Linked DNA regions of Homo sapiens: region 1 is linked to region 2. Evidence: promoter capture Hi-C in 16 types of primary human blood cells and fetal thymus (Javierre and others, 2016). All regions are on one chromosome and are shown on one strand. The core of a region is centred on a gene start or on the middle of the fragment in contact, and the rest is flanking DNA. Distances in the headings are between cores, read along the strand shown.

Region 1 (2,976 bases), core at 354-2,853, 110 kb after region 2:
TTCCCCAACCCAACCCAACACATAATGGATTCAGATTAAAGTTTTTTGGGTTTTTTTTTTTGAGATGTGTCTCGCTCTGTCACCCAGGCTGGAGTGCAGTGGCGAGATCTCAGCTCACTGCAAGCTCCGCCTCCTGGGTTCACACCATTCTCCTGCCTCAGCCTCCCGACTAGCTGAGACTACAGGTGCCCGCCACCATGCCTGGCTAATTTTTTTGTATTTTTAGTAGAGACAGGATTTCACTGTGTTAGCCAGGATAGTCTCGATCTCCTGACCTCGTGATCCGCCTGCCTTGGCCTCCCAGAGTGCTGGGATTACAGGCGTGAGCCACTGCGCCTAGCCTCAGATTAAAGTTGAAGCATTTCCATTCGGGAGGGTATAGTAGTAACTCAAAGATGCATGTGGTATTTTAACCTTGGCATTGTCCACCTTTCCCATTAGGAAGGATTAACTCTCTGTTCTCTTGATCCTTCCAAATTTTGCCATCTCAGACATCTGATGAAAGCAGGAGATTTAGGATAACCACCAAATAACAATGAAACCCTAAAGGAGCAAGGGCTGGTATAGGGCACCACAATGTCAGGAACCCAAACTCCTTTCAGCTGAGCTCTCTGGGTTCTGGAAGAGGTATAAAAATATTCTTCACACAAGGACATTGTAAAAGCCATAAAATTGTCCACCATCTTAGTCTTTTCTTACCTAAAGTTTTAATTCAATCCACTGGAATTTTTTTTTTGTCAAGATTTTTCTGTAGATTTTTAGTAAGGAGATTTTCTAACACAAGTTATGGAGCAATAAAAGGCACTGGCCTTTATCCTCCAGGTCTCAGGAGCCATCTTGCTCCATGTAGCTGGAAAAACAGAAAGGGATGAAGAAAAGGCAAAGGGATGCATAATAGCTATGTTTTAAGGTCAGTTTCTAGAATATGCCACGAGATAATGTCTGTTTTTGTAACCCACTGCACAGAAATTGATCAGTCTCACTGCAAGTGAAGCTGGGAAATTGTCTTTGTTCTAGGTGGCCCAGTGCCCAGCCAATAATTCTAATAATTAGCACTCACATGGTGCTTATTACATGCCAGGCACTGTTCCAGTGTAATAAGAAGCCTAATGGTTTACTGGGCCAGGGATTGACATGATATAGGCCACATTATGGAAATAAAAACAAGAGTGGCTATCATTTTACCGCCTGTTAGGCACTGTGTTACATGTCATATATATGATACCATCAGTCTTCAGATGTCACACTTTCCACATTTTACAGTTGAAGAAACTGAGAATAATGGAAACTAAGAACTTGCCTGAGGGCATAGAAGTGGTAAAGTAGAAACCAAGAATTTGAACAGGAATTTGGATTAAAAACTCTTCCCAATGAAGCACTTGCCCATGCTTGAGGAAAAGTGGGAAGCAATTAAATGTTGGAATTTGGGCTCTGGAGTTAAATTGTCTGTGTTTGAATCCCAGCTTTACCATTAGTAGCTCTGTGAACTTGGGAATTTAACCTAACCCTTCAACATTTCAAGTTTCCTCATTTGGAGAAGGGAATAAGGTTATCCTCATAGGATTGCTGTAAGGAAAGGGTCCATGTAGAACACACAGCATAGTGTCTGGCATGTAGTGAACATGTGATAAACCTTTACTTTATTATTGATTATTGTTATTATTAGTGCTAGGGATATTTTAAATAGCACTTTTGGGGATAAAATGGATAAAAGGTAAAAACAGATGGACCATCTAGAAGTCATTGCAATGATCACAAGGTGATGGAATTTAGGAATGAGTAGAGACAGTAGTACAAGATATAAACATTTCACTTACTATGAGAAATACAAGAAGCTATTCTTATTAACTTTTTATTCTCTGTTTCTTACTTTGACCAAAATTGGAACAACATATTTACTTCGCCAACATTTCAGGTCTTAGGTAGAAGAATATTCACACATCAAAGGATTTTTATGACTTGTTCAAGAGCTAGATAGCCACTTCTTACAATACAAATTATTTTTAAGAATTTAAACATCAATTTCTGAGACAGAATGTTCAGAGAAATATTATTTAAATGCAAAAAAAAAGCAAAAATAAAACTTGCTTAGCATATGAATAAGGGACATGTGAAGATGTATTGCCCATGGATTCCAATAATTCAAGCATTTTTAAAAGTAGTAATTAAATTGTAATTTATCTGGAATAAGGAATTATTATGATAATTCTAGAATGTTCTTAAAAAGCAGACAGCCAGAAGCCTAAAGCAGTTAAAACAGGAACTTTTTAACAAAGTCTGTGTGGCTAAGAAGCAATTTTTAGAAATTCCTTTTACTGCCATATAACTTGTATTAGAAAATTTCCTTATTAAAAACTGACAGAAAAAATCTTGACAAAAAACTCCAGTGGGCTGAATTAAACCTTTAGGTAAGAAAAGAATACAGATGGTGGACAATTTTATGGCTTTTACAATGTTCTGGTGTGAAGAATATTTTTGTATCTCTTCCAGAACCCAAATGTAGGAATTTGTTCCATAGATGCTGGAATTGCAGTTTTTGGAATTTAGTTTTCCAACAGAAAGGAAGTATCACGGAATGAACAGTAAACTAGATTTGCCTTAGGAAGACTGATTTTTAAGTCTCAGCGTGAAATGGCCCATGTTGGGTCTCTTTCCCCCTCCCTATCCCAGGAACAGAGGTTTTTCACCCCACCAGGGTTGGAACTGAGGGGAGTATAAAAGTGCTCTGTTACCTGGTGCTGTACAATGAAGTATCAATGCTCTCTGGACATGGCAAATGTTCCTCATGAAGGGGCTTTCATGTATACTTTGAAGACTACCTTGTCAGGGACCTCTTACCTGCAATTCCCTTAAAATTGTGACTATTTCCATTCCAGCTGTTCATTTGAATTTTTTCTGTAGCCCCTAGGCCTTCAGTGGTCCTCTCCCAGTTTTCTTCCACTGCTCTTCTAGGTAGCCCTCCTGAACAAGGCTTAA
Region 2 (2,755 bases), core at 172-2,671:
AAGGATCAGAGTGTCGCACTGCTTGGAATATTCTCCAATTCTGAATAAAGGGTATATAAGTCATTATACATGGTGAATTCCACCACCAGATAAGATTTAAGGGTAGCAATTGTAATAAATCAAGGCCCTTGGCCCAGCTGATGTACCCTATTCTAAGTCCCCAGTTGGACAGATTTTCGAGCTTTCTTAAACAAATTTGTGTGCATCACAAATGCTTTTTCTGCCTGTCATGTAAAAGGCATCAACAAATATTGACTGGATCATCTGGACCTGACTTAGCTGCCCTTTGGAAAGTTCTGTTCAATCAGCTGGATAGAGCTGTTTGTTTTCCTCACCTAACCCTCACAGCTATCCTAGAGGTAGGTATCACTATTATTATCCCTCAATTTAACAAGGGTAAATTTGAAGTTCAGAAGGGTCAAGAACCGTAGGCGTAGGCCACGCATGCAATGGCATCCGCATGTAATTCGAGCACTTTGAGAGGCCTGGACGGGATGATCCCTTGATCCCAGGAGTTAGAGGTTGCAGTGAGCCCTGATCGCGCCACTGTACTACAGCCTGGGCCACAGAACGAGATGCCGTTTCAACAGCAACGGAAAAAAAAAAAAACAAAAAACGAAACAACAACAAAAACTTTAGGCATAAAGGCACTCAGGCTGAAGGGACCGATTGGAGTGCTGGCTTGAACTCGTTTTTCTGAGTTCAATTCCAGTGCTCTTCCCTTAGCAGTGTGCTGGAGCTACTTCCTGGAGCCGGGCAGCTGCAGGGCAGCGCTGGGGAAAAGACTGTTCTCTGGCTACATAGCAGCCTGGCTTCTCCAAGCCGGAGGGAGCTGCGCTGACCACTGAAGGCCTTTCTGATGCAACCCCTTCCAAGTAGAATCCATCGCAGCCTTTCAGATCCCGGAACCCAGAGGCTGTGTCGGTCCTGACGCACTGGCTTGGCTGGGCTCCGGTACGAGAGGGATCTCTGCAGCTCTCGGGCGAGGCAGTTGTGGGGAGCTGTAGGCTGACTTAAGACCTGGAGGCCAAGGAGGGGTGGCCAGGGGAAAACTTTCTCTATTTTGTCTCTCTGTGATGTCGCAGCTTTTCTCAGTCACTCCATCCAACGCCACCCACTTCAAACCTGAGATCAAGTGCAAAAAAAAAAGAGGGTGGGGTCACCCCTGGGCTGGAGATGCCGCTAGCCGCAGCCTGCCTACACCGGGCCGAGCTCCTTGGAGAGGGAGGGACACCGGCTCTGGCTGGGGGGGCGCGGAGTGCCGTGGGGAAATCGGGCGGGTGGGGCGCGCCCAGGCGCGGTCGAGTTGCCCCGAAGGCCGCAGGTGAGGGAGGGCGTGGGAGGCGCCCCAGGAGCTGCCTCTAGCGAGTGCGGCACCACGTGTCCGGCCGGGGCGGGGTCGGGCGTGCCCTCGGAGCCCAGAGCAATCGGCGGCAGTGGCGGCGGCGGCGCGTTGGAGCCTCACCAAGAGCCGCCGCCCGCAGCCCGCGCCGGCTCAGCGCAGTCTCCTCGCTCCGTGCTCGCAGGTGCCTCCTCCTGGACGGCGGCAGCGGCGGCGCGAGGAGCCGGCGGGCAGCGGCGCGATGGGGCCCCTCCGCGAGAGCAAGGTAAGGAGCGCGGGGCAGTGCGGGCACTGGAGGGCGGGGAAGGCGGGCACTGCGGGGCGAGAAGCGGCGGGATGAGAGCTGGAGGGGTGACATTTAGAGTCTGGGGAAAGGTGGAAGGAGGTGGTGGTGGGGTCTGGAGAAGGCAGGAGGCATTGCTTAGGAGTTGAGATCCAGGAGATGGGGAGGTGGTACTGGAGGAATAGATTTTGGAGAATGACATGATTGGAGGGTTAATCCCACCTCCTGAAACTGGGACTGTGGGGTGTAGCTTTCAGTTGATATCCTGTGTGTGTGATGTGAATGAAAGGAATTTGATGCATCCGCGACTGGGAAAAGAGGACTCCCGCGTGTCAGTGACCCTGCCTTAGCTCAGGGTCTGCGGTGTGCCCGGCGGAGTGGCTGGCGCATGGTACCTGCTGGGCGGCAGATGTGCAGGGCGAATCCGAGGCTGCGTGCGGCTGGCGGCCCCCGGGTAGAGTGGATGCCTGAGGGCCCTCCGAAGTTCCCCATTGCTGAGGTTTACCCTTCAATTTATGCCATGTGCCGGCCTCCCAGAGGTGTTTATTTTGGCCGTGACCCTTCCTGGTAAGCCGGTGGAAGGAACAGTAGGTCATGTTTCGAAAGGGTGTTTGTTACCTAAGCCAAAGAGTCCCTTTCAGTGGCAGAGGTTGGAGGAAGCAGTGGAATTTTTGCAAAACGCTCCTCCTAGGAATCCATTTTCATAAGGCAGGGTGGTGGTGACCCTGCAAAGCACTGGATTTGAATTTCGTTCTACTTCTGGCATGGTGTGCAGAATTGCCTAAGCATCTCTACCCCATTTAGCCTGTTTCCTCATCTGAAAATAGGGACATTCATTGGTGTGCTCTCTATGTACAGTCTGGTGTGTAAAGATCAAATGAGAAAATGGTTGGAAAAGCACTTTATAAGTTGGAAAACATTGTGAAAATATTACTGTTACGCATTTTTAAAACCACGAAATGGCAGGGTACTTCATGCTGCGTTTTTAAGGAGAAAGAAAAATCTCTTCTTATGGATGTCCTGTAAGGAAAACAAAAATTAAAGATGATGTAAAAGGTGGAGCCATCTTCCCGAGTATCGGATTTGTGTTTGCTTTTCTGTTGGCAACAAGCCTTGTGTACCAGGATATT

The links. The method cuts DNA at HindIII sites, captures the fragments that hold promoters and counts their contacts. A CHiCAGO score of 5 or more calls a contact.
Region 1: a contact is called between a fragment that was not itself captured here and the fragment with the promoter of SYBU in region 2, in 2 of 17 cell types (total B cells and naive B cells). The highest score is 7.2, in total B cells.

Annotation. Positions count from the first base shown.
Region 1 is chr8:109,531,547-109,534,522 of GRCh38, reverse strand. It overlaps PKHD1L1 (PKHD1 like 1), which reads right to left. Exons shown (of 78, transcript NM_177531.6): 78 at 1-2,976. Among named protein-coding and RNA genes, the nearest start is that of EBAG9UORF, 6.7 kb to the left of the region's middle. The HindIII fragment of the contact is 8,383 bases long and covers 1-2,976 here.
Region 2 is chr8:109,643,488-109,646,242 of GRCh38, reverse strand. SYBU (syntabulin) reads left to right here and starts at 1,421. Exons shown (of 7, transcript NM_001099754.2): 1 at 1,421-1,607. The coding sequence starts at 1,584. It overlaps SYBU-AS1 (SYBU antisense RNA 1), which reads right to left and starts at 2,114. Exons shown (of 2, transcript NR_161375.1): 1 at 2,021-2,114; 2 at 1-1,125. RefSeq lists enhancers at 737-1,056, 718-1,654 and a silencer at 1,167-1,656. The HindIII fragment of the contact is 4,274 bases long and covers 1-2,755 here.